Linked DNA regions of Homo sapiens: regions 1, 2, 3, 5, 6 and 7 are each linked to region 4. Evidence: promoter capture Hi-C in 16 types of primary human blood cells and fetal thymus (Javierre and others, 2016). All regions are on one chromosome and are shown on one strand. Each heading gives the region's core, a stretch centred on a gene start or on the middle of the fragment in contact. The rest is flanking DNA. Distances are from core to core; before and after follow the strand shown.

Region 1 (3,102 bases), core at 361-2,860, 1.8 Mb after region 4:
ACCAGTTTAACCCAATAGAAAAAAGGGAGGCAGAACCCATTATTTAAAGTGGAAACTCCTGAATCAGATAATTAGGAGTATTTCCTTTTCAAAAGTTGCGTTTTTTCAGATACCTCGCTTATTACACTAAGAAAGGTTTATATCTTTCACAAAGGGTTTACTTACAAAAATCTTCCAATTTTGTATACCTGTGTTTCATAACTGACTAGCCGTCAAACCAAGATGTAGAGTTTCCAACCGTTATTTTCCAAATTTTTAGAAATTACGTGAAATATTTGAATGCATGCCTTCTCAATAAAATGGGACGTAGGAAGCACTGGTGCAGAAGATGGGTACAATACTTATCTGGGACCACTCCATTATTTGGTTGGCACGTTGTTTGAACAAAAAGGGGAAAAGCTCAGGTTACTTAGCATGGTTCGGACTTATTTGAAAACTACCACAGCAGGAGCGGAAATAAGACCGCATTACCTCACTCTCTGCTGTGCTGTGCTAGGGGGTTATCCAGAATAGGATTGTAGAAGTGGATGTCGATTTAATAGTTTTTTATTCTCCCATTAGCTGAGTCTCTGATTGGCAATGTGAGATCGTTTTAGCTTATTGATACTTTGAAATGCACTTAACAGCCACAAACAAGTTAAAGGGTTGTTACCATAAAATCTTATCCCCAGGGTGTGCTTGCATTTATCACCCGTGTTTGCTTTCACACTAAGTGGACTTAACTCCCCAGCAGAATGCCTGTCAGGGAACCGGTTTCGTGGACCCAGCATTTAACGCCTTTCGCAGGCTTGTGAGGCCCATAAATATTTGTTGAATAAAAGAATGAGTTGACCATGTCATGGTGCGCTGATTGCGTGTGCTGACATGGAACACAGGTTGTAAACCTTAATACCAATTTGGGGCATGTTGTATGGATGAAAAGGGCATTGGAAATTCCTGAAGTGCATCCCACATTGGACTGTGGAAATAAGTTGCAAGTGCAGAAACGTTTCCACACTTGCAGTTTGAGTATTAATTGCAGCGTTTGTGAATTCTGGTGTTGTCTACGATTCATTCTTGTTTGACGTGAAAGGTATTCGCGAGACACATCGCTCTAAAACATTGCCAGAAAATGTAATAGAGTTGATGACAACTGGCCCTAACACGGCCTAAAACTCGCACTTTTCTCTCCCTCCGCAACTATTCAAAACACTGTATTTTACATTTCTTGCAAATTAAAAACTAACATCTCTGGCAACGGACCTCTAAAAATTTCTAATAAAACTCCTCGGATGCTTGTGGCACTGCATTTGTAAACCGCCCCCTCTCAACCTACTCCCTAAAAAAGAGCTGCTTTTTGAGAGAGAAGCGGTACCCTCTGATGTTACTGGGCGGCAGTCTGCCTACAATTTCCTTCACAATGAGGCAACCAGAGCGGCTTTTTCTGTGTGTTTGCTTGCGTTGAGGGGAGCAGGACCATAGGCCCTAGAGGCCCCCAGCTGCCTTCTGAGACTGGGCGAAACCCTCGGCAGCGCGCAGGGGGCGCTAGGGCGCGAGGGGCGGGCACTGACGGGCACCAATCACGGCGCAGTCCCACCCTATAAATAGGCTGCGTTGGGGCCTTTTTTTCGCATCCTGCTTCGTCAGGTTTATACCACTTTATTTGGTGTGCTGTGTTAGTCACCATGTCTGAAACAGTGCCTCCCGCCCCCGCCGCTTCTGCTGCTCCTGAGAAACCTTTAGCTGGCAAGAAGGCAAAGAAACCTGCTAAGGCTGCAGCAGCCTCCAAGAAAAAACCCGCTGGCCCTTCCGTGTCAGAGCTGATCGTGCAGGCTGCTTCCTCCTCTAAGGAGCGTGGTGGTGTGTCGTTGGCAGCTCTTAAAAAGGCGCTGGCGGCCGCAGGCTACGACGTGGAGAAGAACAACAGCCGCATTAAGCTGGGCATTAAGAGCCTGGTAAGCAAGGGAACGTTGGTGCAGACAAAGGGTACCGGAGCCTCGGGTTCCTTCAAGCTCAACAAGAAGGCGTCCTCCGTGGAAACCAAGCCCGGCGCCTCAAAGGTGGCTACAAAAACTAAGGCAACGGGTGCATCTAAAAAGCTCAAAAAGGCCACGGGGGCTAGCAAAAAGAGCGTCAAGACTCCGAAAAAGGCTAAAAAGCCTGCGGCAACAAGGAAATCCTCCAAGAATCCAAAAAAACCCAAAACTGTAAAGCCCAAGAAAGTAGCTAAAAGCCCTGCTAAAGCTAAGGCTGTAAAACCCAAGGCGGCCAAGGCTAGGGTGACGAAGCCAAAGACTGCCAAACCCAAGAAAGCGGCACCCAAGAAAAAGTAAATTCAGTTAGAAGTTTCTTCTAGTAACCCAACGGCTCTTTTAAGAGCCACCTACGCATTTCAGGAAAAGAGCTGTAGTACACAGATGAAATCCCCCAAGCAAATGCAACACGCCCTCAATTATATTAGAATCACTTGGAGAGTCGATAGAACTTTAACATAGCCTCATCTAGTAAGAATTTACTACTCAATCTATCAAAGATAGCAAGGTGAATTCAAATGCACCGAGTTAAAATCGAGTTTTAAAGTCACCTGGGTTTCGGTAGCCGGAAGTCCCGCGTCTCACGACTCCAAGCTAATTAGTCATAACCGTATTGAACCAAGGTTGAAGCCCAGTCCCAGGCTTGAGGCTTTTTATTATACAAGGTTAAAGTGGGGATATTGCGTTTTGGGGTCAATATTGCTAAAGTAGCATTTTCCGAAATTGGGTGGTCCTAAGAAATGCTTCTGGGATAGTTGGCAAAATATATGGCTTAACCACGCCCTCTCCACAGGAGTGGCTAGCGAGCTGTCTGTCCTTGGGAAGGACGGTGACCCTGCTGGCGTGGCTGGCGCCCACGTTGGCGTCCTCTGAAAGCCCCGCCAGGTAGGCCTAGCTCGCTTGCTTTCTGCAGCGCCATCATGACAAAGCTTTGAAACGCAAAATGCTTTCTTTGTGCAGCGCCTTACCATGGGTGCACTTACGGGCTGTCGACTTGGTTTAGGCCCTTGTCAGGACAAAGGAGCTTAGTTTGTTGGAGTTTTAGAGCTGCAACCCAAAATCCCTTGCTCGGTTTCTCTGTTTTTAGAAA
Region 2 (3,389 bases), core at 526-3,025, 1.8 Mb after region 4:
CACTTAACCATTTTTACTAGATTACTCTGTGTTCATAATAATCACTTTTTTAAAACTTTTATTTTTATTTATTTATTTTTTTTTTGAGTCAGAGTCACACTCTGTCGCCCAGGCTGGAGTGCAGTGGCGTGATCTTGGCTTACTGCAACTTCCACCTCCTGGATTCAAGCAGTTCTCCTGCCTTAGCCTCCTGAGCAGCTGGGATTACAGGTGTGCACCACCAAGCCCGGCTAATTTTTGTATTTTTAGTAAAGACGGGGTTTCACCATGTTGGTCAGGCTGGTCTCCAACTCCTGACCTCATGATCTGCCCACCTTGGCCTCCCAAAGTGCTGGGATAATCACTTTTTATGCTGCATAATTCTTCAGATTTGTCAGTACGACTGTATTTACACTCATTTGTTTTATTAGAAAGAATTCCAGAATATTTTGGCTGCCCTAATTAATTTTACAATTAATATGATTTTGAAATTGGGTATTGGCTCCTTCTGAATTGGTTTATTAAAATATATTCTAATGTAATTTATGACATTTTCATCATATTAGCATATTTATTCTGTTAGAATTTCATAATTTATAAAGCTACAAACTGTATGTGATATAGCTTGTAACTTTATCTCATAACTTTATGCAGTTACAAGTAGAAATAAAATGTTCCCCTCAAGATTGCTTAAAATTTTATTATAAACAAGTGTAAAAAACAAAATCACTAAAACACTCCCTCTTTTTTCCCCCAAAATGCATGTTTCCATTTTAACAGAACCCGTATTTAATCAGCAGATTTCTATGGTGGCTAGATTTGTAGACTAAATATTAAAAGTCCCAAAGCAAATGCATTTTTCTCTTAAATTTTACTGACTTTTTTTTTTTTTCTTTTTCTGAGACGGAGTCTTGCTCTGTCGCCCAGGCTGGAATGCAGTGGCACAATCTCGGCTCACTGCAACCTCCGCCTCCCGGATTCACGCCATTCTCCTGCCTCAACCTCCCGAGTAGCTGGGACCACAGGCGCCCGCCACCACGCCCAGCTAATTTTTTGTATTTTTAGTAGAGACAGGGTTTCACCGTGTTAGCCGGGATGGTCTCGATCTCCTGACCTCATGATCTGCCCACCTCAGCCTCCCAAAGTGCTAGGATCACAGGCATGAGCCACCGCGCCCCGCCTACTGACTTTTATCCAAAGAAAATATAAGAGCTCTTCATCATAACGTATGTTTCTTGCTCTTGTTATTAAATATGACACATTTAGACTTAAACTGATTTGAAGGTTTATGACATTGTTTAAGTTATTACATAATTAATTCATAAAGATAATGACTAGTTTGAACTACTGACAGCTCACACATCATCAGTTGAACAGCAGAAAGCTTACTAAGCTACTTTCTTATGTTTCTGTCTCCCAGCTACTAAAAGAAACGAAACCCTTCCAGGTGTTAAGGCAAAACTTTCCTCCCCCTTTCTTCTATAAATCTGATTCCATGTTAGTGAAATTTCTACTGATGGCTTTGGTTTCCTCTATAGTAGAATAGAGATCCTATGGCAAAAGTCATGTCTGACATGGTAGCAAATAGAAATGGGGAAAAGGAAGGTCTGCAAGAGCCAATGTGGGAAATGGGGAGAGGACTGACTACAAAAACCCAGCAGGAATTCCAGAAGAAAACTCCTCAGGACGGGCACATTGGCTCATGCCTGTAATCCCAGTACTTTGGGAGGCCGAGGTGGGCAGATCACTTGAGTCCAGGAGTTTGAGACCAGCCTGGTCAACATGGCGAAACCTCATCTCTACAAAAAATAAAAAAATTTGTCAGGCGTGGTGGCATGCACCTGTAGTCCCAGCTACTCAAGAGACTTAAGTGGGAGAATCACTCGAGCCTTGGAGGTGGAGGTTGGTGAGCCGAGATCACGCCACTGCATTCCAGCCTGGGCGACAAAGTGAGACGCCATCTCAATCAATCAGTCTCCTCGAAAAGCAACATTATGGAGAGACAGGATTCCGTCAAGGCCTGGGGCACACAGGAAAATATTAAGGCAGAAGAGAGTTTCCTCCCCACACCACACCGTATCCCACAGGCACTGCGGATGTGCATATGCAAGAGGGGTTGATCCTAAGAATTTAGAGTCACAGAGGAGGAGGCACCAAGCAGACTGTGGAGAAAGTCATGACCAGAAAGGGACAGAATGTAAAGCTTCAGCTGATTATCTGGCCTCAGGGATTCCAGAGGAACTGGTCCCAATGGTCTCCTGGTGATGTAGGTTCTTAGGTTTCTTTTACAGGGGTTTTCTGGGAGATCGTTGACCCAGTTAGCATTCAAGCAACTTCCACCCTGCACTTTTATTCTTTCCCCTTCACCTGCTTAGGTTTTATCTGTCCAGGAAATAATAATAAAATTATTGAGCCCTGGACATGTACCTGTAAAGCTCCTTAAAGATGATGCCTTCTAACTCCTCATTCAACAGATACAAAAACATTACAATAAAATGACTCATGCAAGACACCCAGGTAGTTTATAGCAGCTAATAAAAACAGAATAACTATAAAATATGGTAAGTTTATAAAAGTTACATTGAGTATACTTTATAAGAACTGCTTATTGAGTTTGCCTAATAACCACACAGCACAATAATAATATGTATATATTTTTAAATATGTGTAAATATGTGTAACACAAACTTGTAGAAGGTATATCTGAGTACAACCCTATTCTGTTTGGTTACCTTTTCTAGTTCATTATGTAAGTGGCATAGCTACCTAAGGACTTATGCTTATAAATGTTACTCAAAAAAATACAGAGGACATATGTGGATAGATAATGGAAGAGATAAGATAGGTAGGTTGAAGGGTTGGGCTGCCCCTCCACACCTGTGGTTGTTTCTCGTTAGGTGGAATGAGAGACTTGGAAAAGAAAGAGACACAGAGACAAAGTATAGAGAAAGAAAAAAAGGGGTCCAGGGGACCGGTGTTCAGCATACGGAGGATCCCACCGGCCTCTGAGTTCCCTTAGTATTTATTGATCATTATTGGGTGTTTCTCGGAGAGGGGGATGTGGCAGGGTCAAAGGATAATAGTGGAGAGAAGGTCAGCAGGTAAACACGTGAACAAAGGTCTCTGCATCATAAACAAGGTAAAGAATTAAGTGCTGTGCTTTAGATATGCATACACATAAACATCTCAATGACTTGAAGAGCAGTATTGCTGCCAGCATGTCCCACCTCCAGCCCTAAGGCAGTTTTCCCCTATCTCAGTAGATGGAATATACAATCGGGTTTTACACTGAGACATTCCATTGCCCAGGGACGAGCAGGAGACAGATGCCTTCCTCTTGTCTCAACTGCAAAGAGGCGTTCCTTCCTCTTTTACTAATCCTCCTCAGCACAGACCCTTTACGGGTGTCG
Region 3 (3,367 bases), core at 817-3,316, 1.8 Mb after region 4:
TTGGGCATGATGGTGACGCGTTTAGCGTGAATAGCGCACAGATTGGTGTCTTCGAAGAGTCCCACCAGGTAGGCCTCACAAGCCTCCTGCAGCGCCATCACCGCAGAGCTCTGGAAACGCAGGTCGGTTTTGAAGTCCTGGGCGATTTCTCGCACCAGGCGCTGGAACGGCAGCTTCCGGATCAGCAGCTCGGTGGACTTCTGGTAGCGACGGATTTCGCGCAAGGCCACGGTGCCCGGGCGGTAGCGATGAGGTTTCTTCACGCCACCGGTGGCCGGAGCGCTCTTACGGGCTGCTTTAGTAGCAAGCTGCTTGCGCGGAGCTTTGCCGCCGGTAGACTTGCGAGCTGTTTGCTTCGTACGAGCCATTTGCAATGAGAGCACACACAAAAGTGTAGTGAACTGAGAGCAAGTGGCCTTTAAATATAGTGAGAAACATTCTGATTGGTCCTGTAATATTTCAAAAGTCCCGCGCGATAAAATCATTGGCTGAAGAGTGACCAGACTGATTGGTTCATTACTAGACAATCTTATTGGATGAGTTGCCCCACCGCCCATCCTGTCCTTTTCGTTTCAGTTATCTGCAGCGACAAATTGTCTAAAATTCTAGTTCATCCAGTCCCAAAGAACAGAGTGTATAACAAGGTATCTAAGGATTTTTAAAATGTAAATTCCGATTCAGTAAGTTTGAGTGGGACTTGAAATTCTGCATTCCTGACAGTCTCGCAAGTTATCAATGCTGGTGAACACTCACTAAACCACCAGAAACGTTCAGACTCATGTCGGGAAATAACGCTTATATTCAGAGAATGAGATTCCATGCTATTTTGTTACTGGCGAACAGCAAGTTTCCTTGCCCTTTGTTTTCTAAGTCCAAGTCACATTCCCACCCTGCCTGTTCTCAAAATGTCTTATTTTGGTTGGCCTTAAGTTTCACTTTGTATACTCTAAAATGTACTTTCTAAAGGAAGGTGTTATTTTCTCGAAACTTAACTTTTTAACACCATTAGGCTAGGGGGGCGGTGGCTCACGCCTGTAATCCCAGCATTTTGGGAGGGCGAGATGGGACGATCACTAGAGGCCAGGAGTTCAAGACAACCCTGGCTAAAATGGTGAAACCCCGTCTCGCATAAAAATACAAAAACTAGCTGGGCGCGGTAGCAGACGCCTGTAATCCCAAGTACACAGGAGGCTGAGGCATGAGAACCGCGTGAAGCGGCGGGGTGGAGGTTGCAGTAAGCCGATATCGCGCCGCTGCACTCCAGCCTGGGTGACAGAACTAGACTGTCTCAAAACAAACCAATCCAAACGAAAAGCAAAAAATACCCTAACAGAAGCAAGTTATCATCCTTTCTTGTGTAACTATGGACGGCTCTGAAAAATGCCGTTTCAAGTGTAAGCTACGTTTTCTGATTTGAGTGTTTACTTGACCTTGGCCTTATCGTGGCTCTGTTATTTTGGCAACAGGACGGCCTGAATATTGGACAGGACGCCTCCCTGAGCAATAGTGACGTTGCCCAGCTGCTTGTTGACCTCCTCGTCGTTTCGGATGGCCAGCTGCAGGTGGCGGGGGATGATGCTGCGGGTCTTGTCACGTATGGCGCTGCCCACCAGTTCTAAGATCTCGGCGGCCAGGTATTGTAAGTACACTGGCGCACCGGCTCCGACCGGCTCAAAATAATTGCCCTTTCGAAAAAGATGACGGACTCTGCCCTATTGGGAACTGCAAGCCCGGTAGCGACGAACAAGTTTTTGCTTTAGCTCCATTTTCCACGTCCGCAAATAGCGACCTATGAAAGCAGCGGAAAACTGTGAAAGACAAGCAAGCTGGAATGGCGCCTGAACAAATCCTTTTATACAAACTGCAAGGCTGCAATAGGAAGCTATCCTATTGGTCAATTATGTTTGGTGCTTTATCCAATAGAAAAAGATAACATAAATTCCATATTTGCATAAACCCCACCCCTCAGTGAAACCGTGTTTCTTTTGTCCAATCAGAAGTGAGGAATCTTAAACCGTCATTTGAATCTCAGGACTATAAATACATGGGCTCTGAACTGTTCTCTGTACTACTCTGTAGTGGAGAGTGTTAGTAGCTTTTCTATTCTGTTTAGGAATAGCAATGCCTGAACCCTCTAAGTCTGCTCCAGCCCCTAAAAAGGGTTCTAAGAAGGCTATCACTAAGGCGCAGAAGAAGGATGGTAAGAAGCGTAAGCGCAGCCGCAAGGAGAGCTATTCTATCTATGTGTACAAGGTTCTGAAGCAGGTCCACCCCGACACCGGCATCTCATCCAAGGCCATGGGGATCATGAATTCCTTCGTCAACGACATCTTCGAGCGCATCGCGGGCGAGGCTTCTCGCCTGGCTCACTACAATAAGCGCTCGACCATCACCTCCAGGGAGATTCAGACGGCTGTGCGCCTGCTGCTGCCTGGGGAGCTGGCTAAGCATGCTGTGTCCGAGGGCACTAAGGCAGTTACCAAGTACACTAGCTCTAAATAAGTGCTTATGTAAGCACTTCCAAACCCAAAGGCTCTTTTCAGAGCCACCTACTTTGTCACAAGGAGAGCTATAACCACAATTTCTTAAGGTGGTGCTGCTGCTATTCTGTTTCAGTTCTAGAGGATCAACTGGAATGTTAGCGAAGACAAGTTTTAGAGCCAAGGTTAACTTGGACGGGGCCGTGCGCGGTGCCTCTTGCCTTTAATCCCGGCAATTTGGGAGGCCGAGGCGGGCGGATCACGAGGTCAGGAGATGGAGACCATCCTGCTTAACACGATGAAACCCCGTCTCTACTAAAAATACAAAATAATTAGCTGGGCGTGATGGTGGGCGCCTGTAGTCCCAGCTACTCGGGAGGCTGAGGCAGGAGAATGGCGTGAACGCGGGAGGCGGAGCTTGCAGTGAGCCGAGATCGCGCCATGGCACTCCAGCCTGGGTGACAGAGCGAGACTCCGTCTCAAAAAAAAAAAAAAAAAAAAATTAAAAAAATATGAAGTTTTGAAGCAGAAATTATTTTGTCGTATGTTCTTTCATAAATTTTTTGCCTGCCTGCCTTCTTCCTTTGTTACAGAACTCCAACACTTACCCAAAGGTAGCTGTTGGGTCAGGGTTTCTGTACTATAGTCCCTTCTGTGGTGGCCAGAAATATGTTACAGGAAAGAGGTCCCCATCCAGACCCCAAGAGAGGGTTCTTGGATCCCGCGCAAGAAAGAGTTCAGGGTGAGTCCGCAGTGCAAAGTAAATGCAAGTTTACTAAGAAAGTAAAGTGGTGAAACGACAACTACTCCATAGACGGAGCAGGACATTCCCGAAAGTAAGAGGAGGAAGGCATCCACCCTAGGTACAATACTTGTATATATGGGGA
Region 4 (3,021 bases), core at 179-2,678:
GGAGAATCGCTTGAACCCGGGAGGTGGAGGTTGCAGTGAGCCAAGATTGGGCCATTGCACTCCAGCCTGAGCGAAAGGGCGAGACTCCGTCTCCACAAAAAAAAAAAAAAAAAAAAAAATTCAGAGTATAACCCTGTATTTATTAATAAGAAAGAAAATCAAATATACGGAATCAAAGTTGCTCCATAATGGTTGATAACAAATCTTTAGTTGGGTCATATAAAAGTGTCTTTTTAAAAACCTACAAGCGTCCAAGCGAAGCGGCTCACGCCTGTAATCCCAGCACTTTGGGAGGCTGAGGCGGGCGGATCACGATGTCAAGAGATCAAGAGCATCCTGTCCAACATGGTGAAACTTGTTCTTTACTAAAAATACAAAAAATTAGCTGGGCGTGGTGGCGCATGCCTGTAGTCCGCGCTAATCCGGAGGTTGAGGCATGAGAATCGCTTGAACCCGGGAGGTGGAGGTTGCAGTGAGCCGAGATTGCACCACTGCCCTCCGGCCTGACGACAGAGCGAGACTCCTTCCAAAAAAAAAAAAAAACCCCACACACAAAACCTACAAACACCAATTTTCTAGTTATAAGAGCTTGTTTTAAGGATTTTAATTCTATTCCAATTAAGTCCTAAAGCTAATGCAATTATCAAAATCTCGAAGAGATTTTATTCAAACTTCACAAAAGGTCTCTAAAGTTGTCCAGAAACCTTGGTGAAACAGATTAGGAAATTTGGAAAGGAAATAATGCGGAGACCCGTAGTACCAAATCATGAGACCTCTAATACAATTTTAAATATTAATGTAATAAAATTTAAATTTTGGTGTAATAAAATCATAAATTTCAATATTGGTCCCAAGTATAGAGAAAAAGTACATTTATGTTGAATGTGGAAAACATTATTTTTAAAATACAGCCGATTAAAAAATTGCTGGGGAACTGATTATAACTATTGATAATTCCTAAGAAACATAGACACCAAAACATCACTTTTATCTCTTTAATAGAAATTGGTTAAATTATAATCAATATAAGGAGGTTACAAAACTCCATATACAACACTGTATACATTTTCTTGGAAAAATATGTGCAACTGCTCTGCAAAATACATGATTAACTAGCCTGTGTGATGGGATAACATTGTAGTTTCTTAATTTCTTGTCCTTTCTTGTATTTCCCACAGTATTGATGTATATCTTCTGCGTTCAAAAGCAATTTTTTAAAGCCTCATAACGTGGTAACAAAATACTATGCACGTTACAAAATTCAGAACACGGAAACAAGAAGCTCGCTTTTTTTTTCCCCCTATTTCGGTTTGGCCCTTTAGATTTCCCCTCCCCCACCGGGGCGGGACTTCCCGCCGACTTCTTTCAGGTTCTCAGTTCGGTCCGCCAACTGTCGTATAAAGGCGCTGCCTCAGGCCAGAGTCCTCACAAAGCGTTGGGTGAGACTCCTCTTGCTCGTCATGTCTGGCCGCGGCAAAGGCGGGAAGGGTCTTGGCAAAGGCGGCGCTAAGCGCCACCGTAAAGTACTGCGCGACAATATCCAGGGCATCACCAAGCCGGCCATCCGGCGCCTTGCTCGCCGCGGCGGCGTGAAGCGCATCTCCGGCCTCATCTACGAGGAGACTCGCGGGGTGCTGAAGGTGTTCCTGGAGAACGTGATCCGGGACGCCGTGACCTATACAGAGCACGCCAAGCGCAAGACGGTCACCGCCATGGATGTGGTCTACGCGCTCAAGCGCCAGGGCCGCACCCTCTACGGTTTCGGTGGTTGAGCGTCCCTTTCTATCAACAAAAGGCCCTTTTTAGGGCCCCCACTTTCTCAGCTGAGGAGCCGTGATGCTTGTTTGCCCAGTTTCTCTTTACCATTTGTTCGCGCCTGCTGAGTTTGTGCTGCTATCGGAGCATGCGTCTCTAGTCGCTGTAAGTAGGCATCAGTCACTAATCGCTCTCCAGTAAATAAAATACCCAACACAACTTGTTTCAGGTGCTCCAGAGCTTACTGACATGGGCCGTCGCGCAGACTGTAGTGCAGTGTCATCATGGCTCACTGTAGCCTCCCGATTAGCCGGAACCTCGCGCCCACCACCACGCAAGGCTAATTATTTTTCCAAAGACCGGGTCTCCGTGTGTTTCCCAGGCTAGTTTCGATATCCTGGCCTCAATCCCCTCGCCTATGCCTAATGTTGGTATTACAGTAGTGAGCCACCACGCCTGGCCACGATACTGTTGAGGTTTTAGGGTTAGTTACATTTAAGGGGCAATTTTCGCAGTGTAGTGGGGAGGAAAGTCAAGCAGTTATAGGTTTCTGGCGCTGTGAATCCAACTGCTGAACATAGCAAGAACTTATTATGCAACAACCTTTAATCAGTGGACCGTAAATAAGTTTAGTTTATCGGTTTTGGCCCAATTCTTGAGAAAGGTGAGAATTTGAATCCTTGAGTAGAAATACGTAGCTTATCAGTACAACAAAGTGATCACAACAAAGACTAACTTATCCTTTGTTACTTAACGTGGGCAGAGCTTTACCGCTGAGAATTCCTCAGCCTTTGAGTGTTCTCTTATTTACAACTGAAGTTGATAAGATGGTATTAAAAGTGAGATTCCTAGTAAGTAAACTTAAAGGCCTGAAGGACCAGTGATTAATGGGAAGTGCTAATAAGTCATATTTGAGGTTATCCAACCCGAGATTCTGATTTAATTGGTTTAAGGATACTATCACCTTGTGGGTTAGATTTGAAAAATAATAATTGCTTTAAGGAAGGAACCTGTTGGTATTTAAACAAAAAACTTTCCTTCCTGATTCTTACATGCCGTCACTTAGACAAATCTCTGGTCTACATGGCTGGATCTCTTTCTGCTAGTTAAATTCTGTGCTACCCTGTGAAAAAGAACTGAGATTAATAAAACGGTAGTGAGAACACAGGGAAAGATAAAAATCATAGCAAGCCCATCCAGTCATGCTGTAGTCATCCTCACAAGGATAGGGAAGGATCTTGTCCTTCATTTATCACCCAAAGTGTG
Region 5 (3,382 bases), core at 347-2,846, 1.8 Mb after region 4:
GGTCTTGCTCTGTCACTTAGGCTGGAATTCAGTGGCATGACCATGGCTCACTGCAGCCTTGCCCTCCTAGGCTCAAGCAATCCTCGTCTCAGCCTCCTGAGTAGCTGAAACTAAGGCACATGCCACCATGCCCAGCTAATTTCTTTTCTTTTAGAGATGGGAGCCTTGCCCAGGCTAGTCTCAAACTCCTAGCCTCAAGTGATCCTCCCATCTCAGCCTCCCAAAGTGACAGGATTACAGGTGTGAGCCACCATGCCTGGCTGCTCTGTAAGTGTCTGAATTTCATTTTGTATTTATCAGTCTGTTTAGATTTTCTTTCCCTTCTTGGGTCAGTTAGGCCATTGGTTTCTTTTTAAAGGTTTTCAAATTTATTTGCATCTAATTCTTCAAATTACTCTCAAAATTATTCCAGTATATATTCTTTTGTTCCTATTTTCTTCTGTATTCTTTATTAAAATAGCTAATGATTTATCTAGCAGGACTTATATTCTTTCCATAACTTTCCTGCACCCCAATTAATCTCCAATTTTATATTTCTTCTGGCCTTCCTTATAGTTTCCACAGGTTTATTTTATTCATTTTTTAAAACTTTTATTTAATTGTTTATTTTATTATCATTCTTTCTTATTCAGCAATCTAAGTGCTTAGGGATATAGAATTTCCTCTAAGCAGCATATGCTAGGCTTTAACAATGTTAGGGAGGCCTCCCCTTTCTGGGGAAGACCACACTTACATTAACACAGGACTGTGGGATGCCAAGAGGTAGAGAAGAGCTTATGAATATCCAGATTACATCTTCACTGATCCTGCACAAAGGTGGGGTTCCTCGGTTACCCACTGGGTCCTATTACCCAAGTCTGGGTCAGCATACCGAGACTACGGGTATATAGAACAAGTGCAACTGGCGATAATCCTTCTGTTGGGGAGAAAAATCTTTTTTTTCTATTCATCTTAGGTTCTCCATCTGTGGCCCTATCAAGTAGACTAACAAAAGACAGATTGACAAGACAGAAACAAAGCATGTGCATTGTACAAACACAGGGGAGTACTGAGATGAATACTCAAAAGAGGATTTAGAACTTGGGCTTATATAGCATTTTAAGAAAAGAATACATTTTTTAAGTGACAAGGAAGACGAAAAGGACTTTGAGTTTCTAGTGCAGTAAATTGTGGGAAGGCAACTTTTTCTTTCCCTTTTTTTTTTTTTTTTTTTAAAAAAAAAGACTTCTCTGGTGCTATGTCCAGGCTGATAAGAGTCTAAAGTCTCTGGTGACTAACTTTTGTTCTTCCCCGAGTAAGAAGACACCTTCACAATTTCATATCCTGCTTTTAGGCAAATAGGGAGAGGGCAGAGGTGTTTGTTTGTTTTTAATCTATTTTTTTTCTCAATTGTCTTCAACTCAAAATACTTCTTATGCCAAAGATGGCATATTCTGCTACCCTTCACTTACTACTTACAACCCAGCCTCTATCATCATAATTAGAACTTCTGACCCTGGGGAACATGGGCAATAGTTTGAACTCTTTTATATCTCCCTTAGGCAGAGATGGAGGCCCAGCCATGCCTCTGACATCTAGACACAACTGTTGCTTCATTTCTCCTATTCTCAGAGGTGATGTTGTAGGACTTCAACAAATATCAGTAAACATTAATTTTTTTTTTCCTTGAGGCACAGCATGATCTTGGCTTACTGCAGCTGCTGCAGGCTCAAGCAATTCTCCTGCCTTGGCCTCACGAGTAGCTGGGTTACAGGCCCCTACCACCATGCCCGGCTAATTTTTGTATTTTTAGTAGAGACAGGGTTTCACCATGTTGGCCAGGCTGGTGTTGAACTCCTGACCTCAAGTGATCCACCTGCCTCAGCCTCACATAGTTCTGGGATTACAGGCGTGAGCCACCATGCCTGGCCATCAATTTTTATGTCAACTCTAAATTATAACATTTAGCAATTTTGTGACTTTTTATGGTCATCATTAATGTTGTTTATGTTTTAGTTGTAGTCCTGTCATTACTCACTCGGGTATGGTAATTTGGTCTTTTTCAAAATGAAGTTAAGGTCTATTTGCTCTTCTCTGAATCATAATAAGAACTGCCAACAGCCATTTCAGCAATAACTATTTACTGAGATTTTAAAATATTTCAAGGTAATTGGTCCTAGCAGACTGGAAAATACCAAATTCTTTTCCAGAACTGAATCCCCCATCAAAGTTCAATTTTACTCATAATTCCCTTTTCATTTGAAGCATCTCATTGTAAGCCAGTCTTAACCCTTCTCTCACACTTTGCTTGGCTGTTTCTCAGGTAGAACTCAGTAAGTCTGGTAGCCTCCAGGACTGCCGCTTAGATTATTAAACAACATGTCAGTGGTTGGAAGAGTCAATGTTATTTTGATTTTTCTGTTTTGTTTTGTTTTAAATGCAGTTGGCGGATAATTGCAGCTTTCTTTCATTCCCTACATGAGTTCAAATGGCAGCAAACAAACTAGGAGAACGCAGACCTTCTGACTTGTGGGTACCCCTACTCATCACCTGAAGACCCTTGGAAATCAAAGCCCTGACCCATTAAAGACGGATGGAGACAGCAACATACGATCATCACTATTATCTTGCTTTGCCCCAGTCCAGGTTAACCATCTGTGGTATTTTTAGTTGCTAAGTCCATATATTCAACATAAATCAATTATATATCCACTAAAATCTCAGCACTAGTCTAACTACTAAGGAAATGACAGCGAAGAAAACAGACCAAACGTCTGCCCTTATGGGATTTATATTATTTTCTCTGTGCTGGTTAAACCAAGGAGCTTCTGCTCTTTTCCTTAGTCACCTGGGGGAGGCAGAAACAAAGGAGAATATTGATAAACCTGGAAATAGGGCCGGAGAGTATCAGAGAAGGAAGCCTTCGGGAAAGTAAAGATGTGGCAGCCAGTATTCCCGTTATAAAAGGATACAACTCCGGCCTCATAGTCCAGAAAAATTCCCACAAGCAGGGGCTGCTCATGCAGATGAAGGGAAGTTGGGGGAGAAGTAAGTGCTACATAGCCTTTCTTTTTGCACAGCCTGAGGGTCCAGAATCCAGACTGAGGCTCTTGCTTCATGCCAGTGCCCCTCTGCACATTTTCCATACAAACTCCTAAATCCCATCCGGTTCCTTCGCCAACATCCACTTCAAAGTAACGTCTTCCTGAGGTGAAGCCTTCACAACCCAAGACACAGGGGAAGGCAGTAAATCTCCTGGAAGATGTGTCCTGATTCTCCTGGGTGTATCCACGAGTCACTTGTCTCCGATCCTCAGAGAGAATTAGTTCGTGATGAGCTGTATCTGGATCCAGAGTCACACTAACTGCAAAACAAAACAAAACAAACAAAAATAATTTTGTTG
Region 6 (3,417 bases), core at 164-2,663, 1.8 Mb after region 4:
TAGACTGGTAAATACTTGAAGGCAAACGTTTAGCCAGCACATTAACATTTTATGTTTTTATTCTTTTGTGCTCTCAGTGGCTGTGTCTTTTCTATCGATTTCTCACACTGTATGATGGTTATATTTGTCTGTATCTGTCCCACCAGGTATAAGTTCTTGAGAGGACACACTGCTAGGCTGATCTTAGTTTTTATTATTTCTCCTGGTGTCCTGTGCTTAACAAGTGCTCATTAAGTGTGTAAAAACACAGCACAGTAAAAAACTAGACATTAAAAAATAATGTCAACCAATCTATTGAAATTTGCATTTCCATGTTTCTTCCAATATAGTCATTGTGTCAGGTTATGTACTTATTCTGATGAAGACTATTGCCTAATATACGTTTGCATCTTGTGCTTTATAACTGCCTTCATATAGACACAGATTGAGAAGGTGTAAAAATGTGCATATCCTCACAATTGACAAATTCTTATCCTTTGAGGGTAGGTTTGACTTTCTGAAATGCTTTGACATCATTTGAAAGAAGCTTGAAGAATAAGATAGCTGTTAATGACCCAGTTTCCTATGTCACTTATACAATTATAATGGCAATTTCAAAATGTTAGGTAAATATATTTTGCAATATATTGTTCCTTTTGTAATACTCTCTATGTATTTATTTATATTTTTAAATTTTATATTTATGTATTTATTTTTCTGGACAGAGTCTTGCTCTGTTGCCCAGGTTAGAGTGAAGTGTTGTGATCATAGCTCTCTGCAACTTCAAACTGCTTGGCAAAAGTGATCCTCCTGCCTCAGCCTCATGAGTAGAGTAGCGGGAACTACAGGCGCATGCCACTGCACCCAGCTAATCACTATTTATTATGCTCCTACTGTGTGCTTTAGTATATTTTCTGTTGTTTTCTGCAACCCATTTTGAGGGCGTGTTAGGGAATACAGATGCAGTAACTTTCGTCTCAGCCCTTGAGGTGAGGAAATATTTAGCCTCAGGTTTAATCTAATTGTTGGCCATTTGCCTTCAAAGATTGAAATATGAGCAAAACTGTGGCTCTGGGTTATATGTTAAAAAAAAGTTTATGGGGCTGAAGCCAGGCAACAGACAAGAGCCCCTACAATCTTATTTAGGCTGAAAATATCCTGGAGTCCCTGTATTGTTGGTCTCAAGCAGATAGCAACACTAACACTTACTCTTTGAGGCAGGCACTGCCAGTGGGGTGGCTGTTATTATTAGCTTCATTAATTGGTGAGTCAGGAAAAAACAGCTTTAAATCATTCAAAGTTCTGGCCTATACAGGATTTAGTAATATTAGGTTAGCTACATCCAAAAGATGACAGAACCCTACTCTAAGGCTGGGCTTGGTGGTTCACACCTATAATCTCAAAACTTTGGGAGGCTGAGGCAGGAGGATCACTTGGTGCCAAGAGTTTGAGACCAGCCTGAGCAACATAGTGAGACCCCTGTCTCTATCAAAAACAAAGAACTCTAATTGGCATAGTAGAAGGAAAAAGTGAAAGAAAAACCAGCTGTCACCCTCATTCCTTACACCTGTCCTAACAACTCCTCTCACTATCCTTTGAATATATCTTGGCTGTTTGAGTCTCTCTCTAGCCCCATTACTGCTGTTTGGACTTGACATTTTGCTCTGCATTTTTAACTTTTCTACCAGGGTTTCCAGACCCTGAAGAGTGTGGCATGAAACAAAACTAGTCAACCTATAATATTTATGATGTGTGTGTAAATAAAAGAATACACAATATATTGCATTACAATATTTTAACTGTGTCCTCAATTTGTTTGTGGCTTTCTTGAGGACATCAGTTTTGGGTGGGACGACCACATCCTTAATCTGAACTTTCCCTTGGAGGTCATTCTTTTTTTTTTGAAATAGAGTCTCGCTCTGTCACCCAGGCTGGAGTGCAGTGGCGCAATCTCAGCTCACTGCAACGTCCGCCTCCTGGGTTCAAGTGATTCTCCTGCCTCAGCCTTCCAAGTAGCTGGGATTACAGATGCACGCCACCATGCCGAGCTAATTTTTGTATTTTTAGAAGAGACGGAATTTCACCATGTTGGTCAGGCTGGTCTTAAACTCCTGACCTCATGATCTGCCCACCTCAGCCTCCTAAAGTGCTGGGATTACAGGCGTGAGCCACCCCGCCCGGCCAGAGGTCATTCTAATAGACTTTTTTTTTGTTGTTGCTCACAGGCTTGTTCAATCTTATTTCAAAATTTGAGAAATACAGTTTCCATGGAACACCAACCAGATATCAGGTTGCTATGGAGTTGATAGTCAAAAGCTTTGTATCTTCCAGTTTTTCAGAATGGCTTCTAAAGGTTCTGATTCAGAGCTCTTAGGCGAAATTGAACAACCAAGTGTCAAAGTACAACATTCAGGAAGTTAAAAACATGACTGACATATATGTACTATATATAGTGAGCTTGTGTATGTGTCAATGAATGATTTAATTCATTAATGAAGGAGGAAGCAGAATCACAATTAGGTCAAAGGAAGATACGGGAGAATAAAATATGTATTTGGTCAGGGAAAGGATGTATACTGGAAGAGGAAGGGAAAATCAGATATAAAGTTGTTTAATGACTTATTAGGCAATACAATAATAACTTTTAGGGTCATTTTTTCTATATTAAGAATTCATTTCCATCTCTATGACAAAATCCTTATTAATTTATTAAACTTCTACAAGTGAATGTTTACTTTTAGATAGTCTGGACCCAATAAAATGTAAACATTAAGTCAGAGTTACTTTCACGTAGGACAGTGTTGTCCAATAAGGTACCACTAGCTACACGTGATCATTGACCATTTGGACTATAGCTAGACTGATTTAAAATGTTCTAAAAGTGTAAAATACACACCAGGTTCTGAAGATTTATCATTTAAAAAAGAATGTCAACTGTCTTTTTTTTTAGCTTATTTATTATATGTTGAAGTGATAATAGTTTAGATATATTAAGTTAAATAAAATATCTTAAAATTAATTTTACTTGTTTCTTTTCATTCTTTCAATGTGACCACTAGAAATCTGGAAAGTATTTATGTGATTCACATTCTATTTTACTGTCTAGTATTGCCTTACATCATCAGGTACCCCATAAGTAGGCTTTTTAGATAATTCTCTAATATAGCTTGGAAGGATATGGAGAAATATTTTTGCGTTGCTTTTAAGTTTTGCATAACTTTTTCAACACACTTTATAAAGGATCTAGAAAAGGGTTGGTTACATGTTTCTCTGTCTTCTGGCCTCCACCATGTTGCCAGGAGGTTGGGGACAAGATTCTGGGTGGCTGGATGTCCTAATGGCTTGAGGTCTGGACTTGAGATTTGCATATAAAGAGATGTGATTAGATTGAGTCGACTAGAAAAATCATATTAGAGAACTGAATCACAGCGATTAAAT
Region 7 (3,437 bases), core at 1-2,500, 1.9 Mb after region 4:
TGTTCCCTTGGCTCCTACACCATCATGACAATAAAATTTGACTCCACCTCGACCCCCCCCATCCCCCACAAAGAACAACAACCAACACTGGTTAATAAGGTCGGTTGTTTTTTGTTTGTGTTTTTGTTGTTGTTGTTTTTGCTTTCAGGAGCAGAGGTATAATAGGCAAAAGAAAGAGAAAGGAGAATAGTGAATACCTCTTCTGCAGAGAGGGGTGCCTAAGTGGGACTTCCCTGGCTAATAACGTCTTGCTAGAGACCCAACCAGGAGGATAATGGAAGCAATCAAGGCAACCAGAACAACCAGAAGAACCGGTTTATCCTTTTTGTGCCCTCTCCCTAAACTGAGGGAATAAGAATTGGAAAGAAGGCTGCAGAGCAGAGGGTTTGCTCCTGAGGAGCAGTTATTTCTATGGGATCAGAGCTCCTGCAGAACTGGGGAGTTTACTTTTACTATCTCTTCTCCAGGACAGGACCTATCTCAAGAGACATGTTCAGAGTGATTGCAACATAAAGAGTTTGCAGACCCAAGGAGGTAGGGAAGGCAGAAAGAAGATGGGGGAGGCCAGGGATAGGCAACAGAGGAGTGACCAGGAGCGAAAAAGCCTGCCTCTTCTGAGAACCTAGCTGGGCTCTCCCTGTACCCCCGATCCCTCCCCCCCGCCCGCCCCCACACCCCTACTCCTGGGAGCTCCTCTAGGACAGGGGCAGAGTCAGGAGGAAGTTTGAAGAGTGCCTAGAATAAAAAACAGTAATTTAACTACAATTACCGGGTAGGCTGTTTTCCTCTCACAATTTGATCAGTCTCTTGAAGCCACACAGAATTTCTTCTGAAGACGTGTATTCCTTGGCAGGCTATTTCCTCCAGTGATACACCAGGCCCCTCTCTGCTGGGGTCACTGCTCTTCTGGGGAGATGGGGCTCCCCTCCTTCCAAGGCTCCAGGGTTCCTGTCCTGGGCCCCACTCATCTAAGTTCTGAATCTTCTGAGATTTGGTGTAAAGTCTGGTGAAAGAAAGAGCAGGAAAGAGGTGAGAGCTGTAAAACAAAGAAAGTCCTGACCATTTTCAGAGTTGGAGGGGCCCTGCTGTCACGAAATATATTCCCCACCCCACTTGCCATCAGTACACACTCACATATCCACTGAGAAAACCTTAGCCTGGACCTTTTCCGTAACCTTCACTGCTCAGACACTTACATATTCGCTGCTAGTCCCCTCTGTTGCTGCCACTTCCTGGGTCAGGAAGTTAACTCAGACCGGATTAAACTGAGAAGTGAAACTACTGTGGGAGGCGGGGCTCATAAGATTTAGGAGAAAACTAGTGACGTTGTTCATATCATTTGCACTCCGCCTCTCCGGTAAAGGAGGGGGAAACGTAGGAAGAAAATATCCTTCTTTTACAGCAATAAAAAGAAGGAACCAATTAATAACCCTGTAAACTATCATGTGACCCCAACACAGAGTATCTAAAAACAGGAAGCCTGCAGAGGTTCAGTTCACAGACTCTGATTTGAGATCTTTCTACTTTTGCCACCAACTCCCTTGGGAGTCCTTAAGCCTTCCTAGCTGATGTTACTTCTTTTGCTATTTATGGGTTGCTTGTGGTTCTATAACTGCTCTGAAGGGTGTGGTGGAAAAAGGGGTGGTAACAGCAGTAGGACTCATTGGCATCACAAAATTCATCTGAGTCAGCTTTCTATTCTTCTCTGTCCCGTTCTGTGTCTTGTTTTTCTCCTTGCTGTCCTTCTGCAGGACTCAGATCTTCTTCAATAGCGAGGGTCAGCCAGGATAGAAAATGGGAGTCACTAGTGGCCCAGCAGTGAGTGCCCCCAGCTTAGAGCTGTGTGGGATCCCTGGGACCATCACTCTGCTTTGTGCTTTGTGGAGAAAAGGCTGTGGGGTCCAGGGTCAAGTCCTTAATGACTTAGCTCCAGCTTCTCCACTTCAAAATGAAAGGAAAAGTACTATCACCACCCGTTAGAATTATTATTTCATGGGGAAAAAAGATGGATTACTATCTCACAATAAGAGCTTGTCACATTTATAAGTCTCAGGTGTAAGAGGCATTTATGATAACAACATAATAAATGCTGGCTTAAGTAGATGCAGTGGTCCAAGGGAACCAGTAAGGGGAGCTCAGGACACAGGTGGGAGGAGAAATTAAACTTGAATTCTGGGAGCCACTGGCCTGTCTGGGCCCCTGGCCTGCCTGCTGACCCTGATAGCCAATGGAACATGGAGTTTGGCCCAGCTGCAATCCCTCTGGTCCAACTACTCAAAATAAAGGCAAGATTGGGAAACACGTTCCTTTCTTCCTATACCAAGCAGAAGACTCTTCAGCACTGCACCCTCCTGGGTGCTCACAGAGCCTTCTGTTGTTTTGCCACCTACGATTCATCATGCCCTGGCATGATGGTTGCAGACCCCATGCATAGCATGGGACATTCTACTCCTGAGGCAACCAGCACACAGAGAGAGGAGAAAGAATGAGCCCCTGAATCCTTGGTCCCACGATGAGTCCTTGCAGATATCTACAACTTTCATTGTTGTGGATGTGACTCTGTACCCAGGCATGGCTCATTCCAGATCTGTCCTATTGTCAGAGGTGTTCAAACCAGAATGACTCCATTTTGAATGGGGGCTAGGTAAAATAAGGCTGAGACCTACTGGGCTGCATTCCCAGGAAGTTAGGCATTGTAAGTCACAGGATGAAATAGGCAGTTGGCACAAGACACAGGTCATAAAGATCTTGCTGATAAAACAGGTTGCAGTAAAGAAGCTGACCAAAACCCACCAAAATCAAGATGGCAACAAGAGTGGCCTCTAGTCATTCTCATTGCTCATTATACACGAATTATAATGTGTTAGCAAGTTAGAAGGCATTCCCACCAGCTCCATAGTGGTTTATAAATACCATGGCGATGTCAGGAAGCTACCCTATATAGTCTAAAAAGGGGAGGAACGCTTGGTTCTGGGAATTGCCCACATCTTTCCCAGAAAACATATGAATAATCCACTCCTTGTTTAGTACATAATCAAGAAATAACTGTAAGTATCTGTATTAGTCCATTTTCACACTGCTGATCCAGACATACCTGAGACTGAGTAATTTATACCAGGAAAAAATGTTTCATGCTCTTACAGTCCCACGTGTCTGGGGAGACCTCACAACCACAGCAGAAGGCAAGGAGGAGCAAGTCAGGTCTTACATGGATGGCAGCAGGCAAAGAGCTTGTGCAGGGAAATTCCTTTCTATAAAACCATCAGGTCTCATGAAACTTATTGACTATCATGAGAACAGCAGTATAAATTACTCAGGGAAAGACCTGCCCCCATGATTCAATTACCTCCCACCAGGTCCCTCCCACAATATGTGGGAATTTAAGATGAGAGTTAGGTGGGGACACAGCCAAACCATATCAGTATCCTTAGTCCAGA

Evidence for each region. The method cuts DNA at HindIII sites, captures the fragments that hold promoters and counts their contacts. A CHiCAGO score of 5 or more calls a contact.
Region 1: the fragment with the promoter of H1-1 here is called in contact with the fragment with the promoter of H4C12 in region 4 in 17 of 17 cell types (activated CD4 T cells, total CD4 T cells, M0 macrophages and 14 more); the score reaches 41.2 in activated CD4 T cells.
Region 2: a fragment that was not itself captured here is called in contact with the fragment with the promoter of H4C12 in region 4 in 1 of 17 cell types (neutrophils); the score reaches 5.6 in neutrophils.
Region 3: the fragment with the promoter of H2BC3 here is called in contact with the fragment with the promoter of H4C12 in region 4 in 17 of 17 cell types (monocytes, activated CD4 T cells, total B cells and 14 more); the score reaches 57.2 in monocytes.
Region 5: a contact is called between a fragment that was not itself captured here and the fragment with the promoter of H4C12 in region 4, in 1 of 17 cell types (monocytes). The highest score is 5.2, in monocytes.
Region 6: a contact is called between a fragment that was not itself captured here and the fragment with the promoter of H4C12 in region 4, in 7 of 17 cell types (M0 macrophages, fetal thymus, neutrophils and 4 more). The highest score is 9.1, in M0 macrophages.
Region 7: the fragment with the promoter of TRIM38 here is called in contact with the fragment with the promoter of H4C12 in region 4 in 8 of 17 cell types (neutrophils, activated CD4 T cells, monocytes and 5 more); the score reaches 15.9 in neutrophils.

The regions. Positions count from the first base shown.
Region 1 is chr6:26,016,295-26,019,396 of GRCh38, reverse strand. H1-1 (H1.1 linker histone, cluster member) reads left to right here and starts at 1,610. Exons shown (of 1, transcript NM_005325.4): 1 at 1,610-2,365. The coding sequence starts at 1,665. The coding sequence ends at 2,312. It also overlaps the pseudogene H3P26. RefSeq lists an enhancer at 2,418-3,102. The HindIII fragment of the contact is 5,921 bases long and covers 1-2,943 here.
Region 2 is chr6:25,999,639-26,003,027 of GRCh38, reverse strand. It overlaps LINC02980 (long intergenic non-protein coding RNA 2980), which reads right to left. Exons shown (of 3, transcript NR_186645.1): 3 at 1,253-1,778. Among named protein-coding and RNA genes, the nearest start is that of LINC02980, 8.7 kb to the right of the region's middle. RefSeq lists an enhancer at 2,875-3,389. The HindIII fragment of the contact is 819 bases long and covers 1,366-2,184 here.
Region 3 is chr6:26,042,412-26,045,778 of GRCh38, reverse strand. H2BC3 (H2B clustered histone 3) reads left to right here and starts at 2,066. Exons shown (of 1, transcript NM_021062.3): 1 at 2,066-2,552. The coding sequence starts at 2,122. The coding sequence ends at 2,502. It overlaps H3C3 (H3 clustered histone 3), which reads right to left and starts at 395. Exons shown (of 1, transcript NM_003531.3): 1 at 1-395. The coding sequence starts at 368. It also overlaps the pseudogene H2AC5P. RefSeq lists enhancers at 33-352, 1,583-1,822. The HindIII fragment of the contact is 16,277 bases long and covers 1-3,367 here.
Region 4 is chr6:27,829,967-27,832,987 of GRCh38, reverse strand. It overlaps H4C12 (H4 clustered histone 12), which reads left to right and starts at 1,428. Exons shown (of 1, transcript NM_003541.3): 1 at 1,428-1,814. The coding sequence starts at 1,461. The coding sequence ends at 1,772. RefSeq lists enhancers at 1,119-1,944, 1,868-1,977. The HindIII fragment of the contact is 8,845 bases long and covers 1-3,021 here.
Region 5 is chr6:25,983,125-25,986,506 of GRCh38, reverse strand. It overlaps TRIM38 (tripartite motif containing 38), which reads right to left. Exons shown (of 8, transcript NM_006355.5): 8 at 1-3,343. The coding sequence ends at 2,820. Among named protein-coding and RNA genes, the nearest start is that of LINC02980, 7.9 kb to the left of the region's middle. The HindIII fragment of the contact is 4,548 bases long and covers 1-3,382 here.
Region 6 is chr6:26,059,077-26,062,493 of GRCh38, reverse strand. No RefSeq gene overlaps it. Among named protein-coding and RNA genes, the nearest start is that of H1-2, 4.3 kb to the right of the region's middle. The HindIII fragment of the contact is 1,769 bases long and covers 529-2,297 here.
Region 7 is chr6:25,960,615-25,964,051 of GRCh38, reverse strand. TRIM38 (tripartite motif containing 38) reads right to left here and starts at 1,250. Exons shown (of 8, transcript NM_006355.5): 1 at 1,197-1,250; 2 at 770-1,003. The HindIII fragment of the contact is 6,907 bases long and covers 1-3,437 here.